3 separate regions of the Homo sapiens genome follow, and regions 1 and 2 are each linked to region 3. The links are contacts of gene promoters, found by promoter capture Hi-C in blood cells and fetal thymus (Javierre and others, 2016). All regions are on one chromosome and are shown on one strand. Each heading gives the region's core, a stretch centred on a gene start or on the middle of the fragment in contact. The rest is flanking DNA. Distances are from core to core; before and after follow the strand shown. Region 1 holds the start of IRX6 (iroquois homeobox 6). Region 2 holds the start of MMP2 (matrix metallopeptidase 2). Region 3 overlaps FTO (FTO alpha-ketoglutarate dependent dioxygenase).

The links. Contacts are between HindIII fragments. The CHiCAGO score rates a contact against its expected background, and 5 or more counts as called.
Region 1: a contact is called between the fragment with the promoter of IRX6 here and a fragment that was not itself captured in region 3, in 1 of 17 cell types (M1 macrophages). The highest score is 5.6, in M1 macrophages.
Region 2: the fragment with the promoter of MMP2 here is called in contact with a fragment that was not itself captured in region 3 in 2 of 17 cell types (M2 macrophages and monocytes); the score reaches 5.9 in M2 macrophages.

Annotation. Positions count from the first base shown.
Region 1 is chr16:55,322,820-55,327,530 of GRCh38, forward strand. It overlaps IRX6 (iroquois homeobox 6), which reads left to right and starts at 1,384. Exons shown (of 6, transcript NM_024335.3): 1 at 1,384-2,317; 2 at 3,517-3,774; 3 at 4,477-4,586. The coding sequence starts at 2,273. RefSeq lists an enhancer at 3,181-3,681. The HindIII fragment of the contact is 7,317 bases long and covers 1-4,711 here.
Region 2 is chr16:55,477,230-55,481,541 of GRCh38, forward strand. MMP2 (matrix metallopeptidase 2) reads left to right here and starts at 1,969. Exons shown (of 13, transcript NM_004530.6): 1 at 1,969-2,403. The coding sequence starts at 2,251. The HindIII fragment of the contact is 12,132 bases long and covers 1-4,312 here.
Region 3 is chr16:53,944,310-53,948,783 of GRCh38, forward strand. The region is part of intron 8 of FTO (FTO alpha-ketoglutarate dependent dioxygenase); the gene reads left to right. Among named protein-coding and RNA genes, the nearest start is that of FTO-IT1, 93 kb to the right of the region's middle. RefSeq lists an enhancer at 1,648-1,942. The HindIII fragment of the contact is 2,260 bases long and covers 1,148-3,407 here.

The DNA.
Region 1 (4,711 bases), core at 134-2,633, 1.4 Mb after region 3:
GAACGCAAGGTTTCTCCAAGGTAACAGCAGCAGCAGCAGCAGCAGTAGCTGTGTTTGTTAGTATTTAGAATGGAGCTTGTCCTCATGTTAACAATCTCTTAAGCAGAGGAGTCTCTGGTTTGTGGCTTAAGCTCCTTGAGCATTCTGCAGAATGTGTTTTTAAAACGGGGTGTGGGGACCTAGAGATGTCATGCTAAAGAGATCAGTGTAAGGTGCTAGTGGCAAACTTGGAGTTGAGGTACGCCCCGTCCAGGACCCCAGACCTTGCCCCGCCTCATACAAGAACCCAGAGCCGTTGCTATCTTCTGGGCCACAGGCTCTCGCGTTTCAACTAGAAAATAAAACTGGGCCCTTGAACCAACCCCTATGGCTCCTTGGAGGAGTTGCAGCAAGAGCCTGGTGCAACTTTAAAAGTATAAAGCGCTTTTAAAAGTATAAAGCGCGGTGACCCCGGTAAGTGAAAGGCAAGGCTTTCTGAGGTTTCTGGCCTGCAAATCCCACTGGATTCCTGCAGTGCCCACCGAAGACCTTCCCCTACCAGACCGACAGTCCCTTTTCACCCCTAGACGTCGCGGGTTGGAGGCTCTCAGAAGGGCAGCTGGGGCCAGAGTACTGAGCCTTCAGATGTGCAGTCTACCGTGCTCGCAAATTGGAGGTTCCATGTCTCGGGGCCAGGCCTAGAGGAGGCAGCCCCTTCCTGGGTACCAACGAGCCTCCCCCACCCCTGCCGCCGCCCACCCATCAGTGCCCCTTTGAAGACCCCTGGGATGGAGTGAGGGGGTGGTCAGACCGCTGGGCCCAGCCGGGCGTCCAGGAGGAGCGCAGGGAATGGGCCGCCCTCCCGGAGCGCTCCACTGCGGCTCTCCAGCGCCACCCCCAGCGGAGCGCAGGGGCTGCAGCCCGGACCGGGAGCCTTCTTCAGGCTCCCTGGCTGCCCCGCGGCCACTGCGGGAGGCGCGCGCGCGAGGCAGCCAAGCCTTGCCTTCGGAGGAGATGCCCAGGGATCTTAGCAAGCAGCCTGCGGCTGCCAGGGATCGGACCTGGCGAGTTTCCCGACGGAATCTGAGGGATCCCGAACCTCGGCCTCGAGGGGGCGCTATCCGGCCTACTCGAGGACCAGGCAGCTGCAGAGAAGCTCCAAGGTCAAGGCCCTGGGCCAGGCCAGGGCTTGGAGAGCCGGAATCTAGCCCGAGTCCTGGGGAGGCTGAGGCGGGGAACCAGATCCCCGAGGACAAAGATGGGCGGGCCAGTGGGATCCACCGACGCTGCCCGGAGCTGCTCCAACGAGAGCCGGGCCTGTGGCGTGAACAAACTTTACTTCAGCGCAGGGGCGGAGGAACCGGGCTGGAGGCTTCTCCCCCGGGCCTCTGCTCTCCTCCACCTGCCAGTGCTCAGCCTCCGCCCAGCCTTCGCCCACCCCAGCTCCCTCCCCCTCCCCCACGCGCCTCTGTTCACTCAGACTCCTGTCTCCCCTCTCCCCTCCTCCTTCTCCCTCTTGCCTTTCTCCCCCACTTTTCTCCTGTCTCTTCTTTTGTATTCTCTCCTCCCTCGCCGCCCCGGTTGCCTCTCGCCTCCTCCGGGCCGCAGGGGAGGAGGTGAGCGCGCTGCGCCCGGGGCCTGCGCGGCTCAGAGGGAGGCGTTTCTCCTACTTCTCCCGGGTAATTTGGAGAGGTTGTGTGTGTGTGCGCGCGCGCGTGAGCTCCAGGCGAAAAGGGGTAGGATTCAGCGCCGAGCAGAGAGGGTCAGGGTTTTTGACGTTCCTCGCCAGCTGCACAAACCTCCCGGAGCAAGTGTGAGTGTGGGTGAGAGTGCGCGCGCGCGCACGGGCTGGCTGCGCTTGGCACGCTTGGTGGCCCAGGGTCCCGGGGCCCGGGGTCCCGTCTGGCGGCCCGGGATTACCGTGACGTCACATTGAGCCTCTGGCCACCTTGGACTGGGACACCTCCGGAGCCTCACAGCCCCGCGCCGCGCCGCGCCTCACCTCGCCACCACGCGCCTTTGGGAACCCGCATCTTCTTCCTTCCCCTGCCCATCCATGGGCCCTTCTGTCTTCCGGACCCCACGGGCCGGAGGGGCGCCTTCCGGAGCGCAGGGCTCGGCAGCCGGGCTGCCCTCGGCTCTGCCTCCACTGGGGCCAACCAGGCGAAGGAACCGGCGCTGGGCATCCGCAGCGGTGTAAGGAACTGAGACACCTCACTGCTGGGGGCGCGGAACAGCTGGGCTGAGACGGGAACTCGACAGGGAAGAGAGAGACGGGCCAGGGACAGCCACCATGTCCTTCCCACACTTTGGACACCCGTACCGCGGCGCTTCCCAGGTAAGAGGCGCCTCTATGGGGGATAGGGGACAGACTGGGTGGAGGGAGTGCCTAGTGCACGGCGCCTGCCTCTGATCATCCTCCTCTTGTGTTCTGGGGGAAGCCAGAAGGAGCAAGGACCAGGGTAATGTGTCACAGCCTCCTCTGACATCCCCAGTCCCTAAATGAGAACGTTTCACCCCGGAGTGCACGCTGGAAAATCTTGTGACCTGAAACATGAGCACTCTGACCACGCGCTCAGTGAGGTGGGTGGGATCACAGGGATCTCCCAGTCAGGCCTCCTCCTATACAGAAGTCTGAGGTGGCCGGGAGAGAAAGAAAGAAAGAAAAGAAAGAAAGAAATAAGGAAGGAAGGAAGGAAGGAAGGAAGGAAGGAAGGAAGGAAGGAAGGAAGGAGAGAGAGAGAGAGAGAGAGAGAGAGAGAGAAAGAAAGAGAAAGAAAGAAAGAAGGAAAGAAAGAAAGAAAAAGAAAGAGAAAGAAAGAACTTGTAGGCTACAACGCTGTCCATCTCACCATATTGTTGTTGATTTGTTGACCTCGGCTATTCTCCTACCCCTTCCTTGGGCGGGCCCAAGCTCTCCGGTTCCCTCGATTTTCCAAACCAAAGTGGATGTTGTGCAATGACAAGGGTTTCCTGGGAAAGTTCTGCGGACACCCCCTCCACTGTTCTCCAGCTTTTCTCTAGAGTTCTGAGTGTATTTTCCTGTTGTCTAGTGCCGGCTCGACCTTTGACCTGCTGTGTGATCTTAGACAAGTCTCACACTCTCTCTGATTATCCACTCCCAATCTATAGAATGGGAGCAGGAATGAGACGTTAATAATGGTCTCTAAGGCCACCTTCTAGCTCCGCCTTTGCAGGATCCTGGGAGGAGGGTAGGGAAGGGAGCAGAGGGTTTGGTGTCTTTAATTCCGGTTTCAAAATGTTCACATTTTCCCGGCCTCCTGGGGCTCTGGGGCCTTAGCAATGGAGTAGGAGCATCTATAAGGGCAGTTTGGTTAATTTATAATTCCCGTCCCAGCACCTAACAGAATGCTCAGCCCAGGTGGCATTTAGTTAATGCATAATGAAGGAATGAATGAAGGAGCAATCTGATTATCTGATTTTCTCTTCTTTGTTTCTAGCTCCCTTCAGCGGGAGCGGGGGCGGGGGTGGGGGGGGGGTCTCTGACCTCCAGTGCCCTCTTTCTTGCCCCTATAGTTTCTGGCGTCGGCAAGTTCCAGCACCACATGCTGCGAATCTACCCAACGCTCTGTCTCAGATGTGGCATCAGGCTCCACCCCAGCGCCCGCTCTCTGCTGCGCACCCTACGATAGTCGACTGCTGGGCAGTGCGCGACCGGAGCTGGGCGCCGCCTTGGGCATCTATGGAGCACCCTATGCGGCCGCTGCAGCTGCCCAGAGCTACCCTGGCTACCTGCCCTATAGCCCAGAGCCCCCCTCACTGTATGGGGCACTGGTGAGTACAGGGGTGGAGTCCCAGGGGAGTGAGCAGTAGAGACAGGTGAAATCCAGAGAAAGTCAAGGAAAGACCCACACCTCCCGAGGAAAGGAAATGGTTAGGACTGTGTATAAGGAGGACAAAAAAATACAGTACCTTACAGTTTGCAGAACTTCATACTGTTTAGAAAACATTTATACTTCTATTAATTCTGTGAGGTAGGCAAGTAATCATTAATCTCAATTTAAGAATGAGGAAATAGAGGTGCACAGGAGTTCAAATACTTTGCCCAATGTCACAGAGATACAAAGGGTCAGAGAAAAGCTCCTGAAGAAGATTAAAGCAGGAAGTGCCCCAGCTGGTGTGTGTTGTGGGGCAGGGGGCGGGGGGTGGGGGGCAGTAAGGGGGGAAAGGAGGGAGGGACAAGTGGTACAGTAATAACAGCAGCTAATATTTAACTACTGCTTATTCTGCACCAGGGATTCTGCCAAGCATTCTGCCAGCATGGTCTTCTTCAATAACCTATAAGTACTATTATCCCCATTTTACCAAGGAAGAAATTGAGGCACAGAGTGGTTAAGCCACTGGTTAAGCAACTGTGCCCAAGGTCACACGGCCAGTACCAGTGGCCATACTGGGATTTGAACCAGACCCTTAGCTACCACCCCATGTGCCCCCTCCCCAACTGTACTCCTGAATTCTCTTTTCCTCTCCCTCTAGAATCCACAGTATGAATTTAAGGAGGCTGCAGGGAGTTTTACATCCAGCCTGGCACAACCAGGAGCCTATTATCCCTATGAGCGGACTCTGGGGCAGTACCAATATGAACGGTAAGGAGTGAAGGGCCTTGGTGACTGGCACTGTGAGTCTTTCCTCCCCCACTGCCAAGGTAGGGTGGATGGCGGCAGGGGAGAGGGAGGGAGCTGAACCACACTTCCACGCCACAGACTGTCCT
Region 2 (4,312 bases), core at 719-3,218, 1.5 Mb after region 3:
GTTCAGGCTGGATTTAGCCCACAGGCCACGAGTTTGCAGCCCCTGCTTTAGTGAGATAACTTTTTCCATTTTCACTCTCAGCTCTCAGCTCTCCAACTTGGCTCTCTGGCTATCCACAGGACGTGGACATGAGCCCAGTGGGGCTGGGCCAGGAGGCAATCCCCCTTCCCAACTGACCTCAGTCTCGCCCTCTCCAAAACAGCCAAGGTTTGTCACTGGGTCAGGCTGAAGGGCCTGGCTCCCTCCTGCGGGGCAAGGTCCCTCCCAAGAGGGTCCTTTAAAACTGACTCTGGAAAGTCAGAGCACACACCCACCAGACAAGCCTGAACTTGTCTGAAGCCCACTGAGACCCAAGCCGCAGAGACTTTTCTAGCTGTGATGATCAAGACATAATCGTGACCTCCAATGCCCCCCACAAGTATATTGCTCCTGATTCTTTCAGCCCCTGACCTTACTTCTCAAACTGTTCCCTGCTGACCCCCAGTCCTATCTGCCCCCTTCCTAGGCTGGTCCTTACTGACCCCTCCAGCTCCATCCCCTCACCCTGTGCCCCACCTTTTTCAGATAGAAAAAACTTTCTTCTCCAGTGCCTCTTGCTGTTTTTCATCTCTGGGCCATTGTCAATGTTCCCTAAAACATTCCCCATATTCCCCACCCAGCACTCCACCTCTTTAGCTCTTCAGGTCTCAGCTCAGAAGTCACTTCTTCCAGGAAGCCTTCCTTGATTGTCTTTACTAGTTTAGGGGCTGAAGTCAGGCGTTCCCAACAGCCTGCTGGAGTTCCCCATCACAGCTTATCTCTCAACTGTCTTTCCTGAGAGAGGGAGAAGACATTCCTCAGAGACGGTTGTCACAGGGAGAACTTCAAAATTGGGATTCGACCTGAGAGGCCACATGGATTCTTGGCTTGGCGCAGGAAAGGATTCAAGAGTGAGTGGGGAATTCGTGGAACTGAGGGCTCCTCCCCTTTTTAGACCATATAGGGTAAACCTCCCCACATTGCCATGGCATTTATAAACTGCCATGGCACTGGTGGGTGCTTCCTTTAACATGCTAATGCATTATAATTAGCGTAAAATGAGCAGTGAGGATGACCAGAGGTCGCTTTCTTTGCCATCTTGGTTTTGGCTGGCTTCTTCACTGCATACTGTTTTATCAGTGGGGTCTTTGTGACCTCTATCTTATTAAACCAGTCTTGCCCAATTTCTATCTCATCCTGTGACCGAGAATGCGGACCCTCCTGGGAGTGCAGCCCAGCAGGTCTCAGCCTCATTTTACCCAGCCCCCTGTTCAAGATGGAGTCGCTCTGGTTCCAACGTCTCTAACGCGGGGCCCCTGACTGCTCTATTTCCCAAGGTGTATCTAGCATCTCGCACTATACGAGGCCAAGTTAAGGCTTACACATTTGCAGAAGGAAAGAGGTAAGGAAGCAACCTGGGACCTTCCACTGTCTCTGTTTCCATCTCTCTCTTTCCATCTCTGTTCATCCCAGAATCTCTCTGTCCCTATCCCTAAATATCGAAAATTTCTGTCTCTGACCATCTATCATTGTGGCTGATCATCTGTTTCTGACCATTCCTTCCCGTTCCTGACCCCAGGGAGTGCAGGGTGTCCTAGCCAAGCCGGCGTCCCTCCTAGTAGTACCGCTGCTCTCTAACCTCAGGACGTCAAGGGCCTAGAGCGACAGATGTTTCCCAGCAGGGGGTTCTGAGGCTGTGCGCCCAGATCGCGAGAGAGGCAAGTGGGGTGACGAGGTCGTGCACTGAGGGTGGACGTAGAGGCCAGGAGTAGCAGGCGGCCGGGGAAAAGAGGTGGAGAAAGGAAAAAAGAGGAGAAAAGTGGAGGAGGGCGAGTAGGGGGGTGGGGCAGAGAGGGGCGGGCCCGAGTGCGCCCCCCGCCCCCAGCCCCGCTCTGCCAGCTCCCTCCCAGCCCAGCCGGCTACATCTGGCGGCTGCCCTCCCTTGTTTCCGCTGCATCCAGACTTCCTCAGGCGGTGGCTGGAGGCTGCGCATCTGGGGCTTTAAACATACAAAGGGATTGCCAGGACCTGCGGCGGCGGCGGCGGCGGCGGGGGCTGGGGCGCGGGGGCCGGACCATGAGCCGCTGAGCCGGGCAAACCCCAGGCCACCGAGCCAGCGGACCCTCGGAGCGCAGCCCTGCGCCGCGGAGCAGGCTCCAACCAGGCGGCGAGGCGGCCACACGCACCGAGCCAGCGACCCCCGGGCGACGCGCGGGGCCAGGGAGCGCTACGATGGAGGCGCTAATGGCCCGGGGCGCGCTCACGGGTCCCCTGAGGGCGCTCTGTCTCCTGGGCTGCCTGCTGAGCCACGCCGCCGCCGCGCCGTCGCCCATCATCAAGTTCCCCGGCGATGTCGCCCCCAAAACGGACAAAGAGTTGGCAGTGGTGAGTTGCTGCGCTGGCCTCAAGGAACCACGTTTAGACAAACTTCGGAGGCAAAGGATGGGGGTGTCTCTCCCCCTGCCCTCGGCGGTGGGCACACAGCGTGGGGGAGGGGCTTCGGTAAACAGCTTGGGGGGTCTTTGGCAAGCTATTGGAGTGATCTCTTGCAAACGGTGGGGGATCTTTTGTAAGCAAAGAAAACCTTTGATAAACAATTTGGCAACCTTCAGCATACAGCAGTGGGGCGAAAAACAAGCCAGAGAGTGGGAGAGGGGTGACCTGGCAAACTACTGGAAAGGGACTCTTATGTAAATAGCGGGGACATCCTCTAGTATCTGGGACATTTGGCGGGGGGGGGGGGCGGTCTTTGTAAACAACTTTTGGACACATCTGGGCAGTTGCTAAGGGCTCTTGCCAAGCGTCTAGGTAAGCCTTTGGCAAACAGCTACAGGGGTCGTTTTTGCTAATGTAGGACTTTGGGAACGGTGCTCTGGCACACAATTTGGGTAAACTTATGCGCGCATAAGGATGGGAGGGAGCTTGGTCAAAGCGGGGCTTGGCAAATTTCTAGGAACCTTCGGCACAGATCCGGAGAGGGACCTTTAAACAAACAGCTCGAGGGGGCCATTTGGGAAGTGATTGGGGCAGGAGGGAAGCAGAGAGCGCATCTTTTTTCTCCTGGCTTAATGGACAAATTGGTCAAGGGCTGGGCCTCGGAAAGTTTCCTCGAACTTCTCCAAAGGGTCGGAGAAAAGAAGGAGAGAGCTGGCCCGGCAGGAGGGAGGAGGAGTGGGGCAGGCGCTGGAGGGCCCGGCGCGTGGGGCGGGGGCGGACTGCGCTCCGCTCGGGTCGGAGAGCGGCCAGAGAGCCCTCCTTCCTGGCTGGGCTCCCAAACCGCGGTTCAGATGTTGTCTTGTGAGCGTGCGCGCGCCTGGCTGGAGGGGCACTGAGCCTGGCCGCAGTGTTGCGTAAGTAGGGCCTGAGGAGAGAGGCAGGCCAGGGACCCATCAAGATGTCCTTTCCAGTCCAGGGGATATCTGCTCCCTTGTTGCTTCAGCCACCCTGCCCTCCAGCCTCCCCCTCAACCTGTCCGGGAGAAGACGCCCATGCCCTCTGGTCACCCTAGGAACTCCTTCAGGAGGTGACAACTACCCTCTCCCAACTCTCACCCTTCCAAACAGCTAGGTCTCAGCCCCCTCTGGATAGATGGGTTGGGAAACCTCCATACATTTTTAGAGGGCTACTTTTTTCAAGGATCTGGAGCTGGCTGGCATAATGATGTGGCTGTTGGGTGGGGGTGAGAGTGGAGCTTTGGGACAATGACAAAGCTACTTGGTTTCCTACACCTTTTCCAGCCAATGGGTCACAGGATGAACCCCTAAATTGGGGTTCAGCCTGGGGGCCACATGGGTTCTTGGCTTGCACAGGAAGGAATTCAAGAGCGAGCCAACAGAGTAAAGTGAAAACAAATTTATTAAGAAGGTAAAGGAATAAAAGGGTGATTATTCCATAGACAGAGCAGGGAATGGGCTGCTGGACTGAGTATACATATGGTTATTTCTTGATTATATGCTAAACAAGGGGTGGATTATTTAAGAGTTTTCCAGAAAAAGGGTGGGGAGTTCCTGGAACCGAGGGTTTCTCTCCCTTTTAGACCATATAGGGTAACTTCTCAATGTTGCTATGGCATTTATAAACTGTCACAGCGCTGGTGGGAGTGTCTAATGTATTTAACATGCTAATACATTATAATTAGCATATAATGAGCAGTGAGGACGACTAGAGGTCACTTTCATTGCAGTCTTGGTTTGGGTGGGCTTTCTCCAGCTTCTTTACTGCATCCTGTTTTATCATAGGGGTCTTTGTGACCCGAACTGTATATGGTGAAATCAGTCCTACCAACCTCCTGTCT
Region 3 (4,474 bases), core at 1,028-3,527:
TTAAGTGTTCTCATAAGACTCTCATTATGTGCCCAGCGACAGTGAGAAATACTGCTCCATTCCCCAATTGTGTTGGCTACCAGTAGATAGGTAGCTATTTGTCTCAAAGCATGAGTGAGAAATAGGAGAGAAATTTATACGTGAGGATAGGTCATTGTATAAAAGTTGTGCTACCTTCTTTCCATTGTATAAAGTTTGTGGAGGAAAAATGGTTTTCTTTCAGAGTAAATTTAATTAATATGTTTGGGGGCATAGATTCTGAATCAGATTGCCTGGGTTTGAATCTTGGATCCACTTCTATAACTCCAGGCAAGTTACAATTGTGGATTGTAACTAGATGAGTTACTTAACCCCTCTGAGCCTCAATTTTCTCGTTTGTTATTTGCCTAGGGGATGATAATAATAGAACCCATTTCATAGGGTTGATTAAGTGATTAAATGTAAAACACCCAGAGCAAGTACCTGTAACGTATTAGGTGTTCAATAAAAATGACCTATCATGATCTTCAGATCAAAACAATAAAGCCAGGAATAAACCCAGCCACCCTTATCCAAATTGGCCTCTCCTTTGAGAGAATGCCTCATGAAGTAAATATCCTAGCCTCCTGGTAGGGGCCTGATATTGCAAAATTGGTGCAGGGAAGAACACTAGACAGAGTTGGTGCTCTGTGCTCAGCAGTGTCACACAGAATTGACAGGTGGAGGGCTGGACTCCAGTTTGAATCCCATCATTAGTGACTATAGGACTCTGGGCATGTCACAGACACTCTACGCCTTAGCAACTTTATGTAAGAAAGAAGCGACTTGATCTCGATCGCCCCAAAAGTGGGAGGCATCTTCCAGCTCTCACAAGGAGTGGCTCCATACGTGAGATCCCCGGGAGCAGGGAAAAGTGGATGTTACTCCTGATGGGTTTCACTCCTCTACTTCCACTTTCCCTGAAGTCTGCAATTGTACTAATTTTAACAACAATAGCAGCTGACATTTATTGAGAAGTCACTGTGTTCCAGACAGAGTTTTAAATGTTTTATATGATGAGAAAACCGAGGCACAGAGGTGCAGAGTAACTTGCCCAAGGCAACAGCTAGTAAGTAGTGAAGATGGAATTTAAGCCAAGACGGCCCAGGTTGGCCAAGAGCAATAACAAAGCTTTAGTTTTTAATCAACCACTGATACGATTCACTTAGTATTTTAGAGACCTTCTAGGATCCTTCTCAGTGTGGAGATAGGCAGGTATGTATCTTTACATATTTATTTCCTCTGGTACCTAACATGTTTTACACTTTTTAGTTGTGGGTGCATCTCTATAAGGAAATAGTATCCAGCTAATGCATTATCAATCTCCCTGCCATGGATCTTTTAAAGGAAAGTTATCACCTTTATATGCTCTGTCATTTCTTTTATATTGGTTACAGTCTTTTAGAAGGTGGGAGAGTAGGGGTGAAAATTAGAACACCAAAGTTTAGCCTCCAAGAATCTGTAAATCTCTGTAAATCCTCTAAGTCAAGTAATTTTGGGGCTGCGTTAGTCAAGGCTGATTTCAGTGGGTGCCCTTAAGGTGAAAGGGTAGCAATTTATCTACTCCATAATGGGTTAATCACCAGCTGTACAGTTTGTTTATATCTAGGAAACAATTTACCACACATGAAGAGTAGTAATTTTATTCTATCTCAGGGGTATCCCCAGTGTATTTTACAAATTTACTCTGTAATGTTATAGATAAAAGTTTAACTCTGGCTTTCAGTTGAGGAAGTCATGGTGGAGGAGGATGGGGGAAGGGGAAGGAACAGCTCTACTGGCCTGTAGGGGACACTGTTGCATCATTTATTAGAATTTTCCAGTCTATTGTCCCAGGACAAAAAAAACAAAACCAAACAAATCAGAAAACAAAAAAAAATAGTTGAATCACCTTGAAAATGCTTATTAGAATTATTTGAATCGTTCCAATGTGTTTAGAATGTTCAGGACTTCTCAGGTATTGGTCAGACTGTTCAGTATCCATGCGTGAAAGAAATAGGTTAGTGGTTCTTTCTGAGACAGGAGTGTTTGATGGGACTCTTCTGATTACCTTTCTCTCCATAGTCAACTTTGGATAGGGTGCTCAGGACGTTACTTTTTAGTTTAATAAACCTTTAGGTTTAGTTAACCATCTTCATTTTTTATTAAGATATGCTCATATTAAGTTGTTTTGCTTCCAGAATGTATGCTAAATAAATGTCCCAATCCTTGGAAGGGCGTTTTGGAAGTTCCTATTGTCTTCTTTTTATTCTTATATTTTTTTTCACTGAAAAAGTTGCTGTTTACTGAAAAAATGAAGTCATATCTACAAGGAAGGCTTATGTAGGGCCTGGTCTGAACTCCAGGAAGCATATGACCAGATGCTGTGCTACGGCTCTCTTTCCAGACTGTTGACAGCCATTGTATCTGTCCAGGTACCCCATGGCCTGGCCAGCAAAACCTCCACCCCTCTGCCCAGCTCTGGCCTCTTTCCTACCAGAATACGGGCCTGGGAGGCAACTGCAATGAACCCTCGGAAAGCATAGGTTTTGCTAAGGCAGCCTGCACAGTAATGATATTGTTAGCTTGCTTCATTTCCAGTTTCACCATCAATTACGCCATGTGTTTCATCCAGTTGGTGCTACCCTCCCAGTGTTAATTATAACCTACAAGACTGTTACAGTTAATTTTATGGCAAGCATATTGTCTCTTCAAGGCTCCAGAGCAGCTCATAAATTATCTTGAAGGTAAAATGTAACTTGGGGAACTAGTTATGAAAATTCCATCCATCTCGCTTAGGAGCTGCAGCTGCTACTGTCAGCTGCCTTGCTGCTGCACTGTGAAGGAATTATGGTGGGTCAAGTTTAAGAGGGTAGGCCCAGGCTGTCACTGAGGAGAAAGGCTGTCCTGGCCCTGTCAGACAAGTACCTTCTGCCAATCCCTGGTGGTTTCACTTTGCAGGCAGGAAGAGGCAGGCAGCGCAGGTGGATGGTCCCCAAGCTGTCTGTATTCATTACTTTACAGAAACTTGTTGTAGGTAGGCAGGTCCAGAGACCTTTCCTCTTCTCTGTTGTCATGATGTTAGGCATCATCTGCAAAGTGTGAGATAGATAACTCTATAACTAACTCTGGGCTTGGTTCAGGAGAGGAGGAGAATAAGGGGGCGGAAGCTATTAGTGGCAGCACTTCCCAGCCACCCCTTACTGGTCTCCTACTTGGTAATTTCTATCTTGCAAAAGCCCCTGGCTTGAACGAGCATTTTATTTGTGGTGGTGATTTTTCATATAATCTGATAAAGCGAGATTTCACTGTGGACGAATGTACTCGAAAATTGCCTACTAAATAAATTAACAGGTTATCTTATTGGGATAATAAACACACTCCTTTTCTATTTCCTCACACGAAGTCTAAGCTTTACATTTCAGCCCTCGGGGCTTTAGCATTATTATTTTTAATGACTGAACACAAGTCTTTCATTTAGCTTGTTTGTATAGTTACTGTAAATGATCTTTCTGCTGTTGGTACTTCATTTGAAATTCTGCATGTTATGCTAGCTTTAAAAGCTTTGAGGGGGCCTTGGAGAATTGGGAAGCTGTATTAAGCACAGCATCTTCTAGTGGCATTGGAAACGGGCTATGGCAGAAAAGTCAGAGAGGGTGTGTTAAGAAAGTACGCCTGCATGTATAAATCAAAGTCTGAGTTTGAGTGACGCGTACACAAACAGTGGTGGTTTCGGTGGCAGGTTGAGAACTCGCCATTGTAAAGTAAGAGAGCCATTCCCTTAGCTGGTGATTTCTCCTTGTGTGTTTCTGAGCACTTTTATTGCATTCACACATCTACTAGTTTTTGTACGAAGAGTGCCTCAGATCATTACACTGCGGCTGTATAAGAGACCTGGTTTGGAGGGATTTGAAGGACACATGGAATAGTGAATTCATGTCCAAAGAGGCACCGGGCTTTCTGAAGGAAGTATTCGTCTGAGCTTTTGATGATGGGGGCATGAGAGTTGGATATTTGTGAGTTTTCTAGTGAATGCTAGTGAACTCAGACCAGGGATTGCAGATTCAGATGTCTGTAGGCCATGGTAATCATGTATGTAGATAAAGCCAGAGAGGTGAGACACTGTTAAGTTCAAGGCAAAACACACGTGTGTGTGTATGCCAGAATCTGCATAGAGTAGAACAATGTTACAAGGTCACAGAGGCAATACCCAGATTGTCTTCTGGTCTCCTGGCCAGCGGACATTCACACTTTGTCTCAAGTGGGCAGCCAGGCAGCTGCTATCCAGCCTTGCGAGGAGGCAGGATCTATGTTAGTAGGTCTTCCACATTTTCAACAGAAGTGGAACATTCATATTGTATGTGTATGCTTCCGAAGTCTCACAGTGATTTAAATGTTAGCATGAATTCAAATATTTGTAACTGTTAGGCTAATCAAAACATGTGTGGAGCCTGGACATTGTGGGCAGGATTCTGCT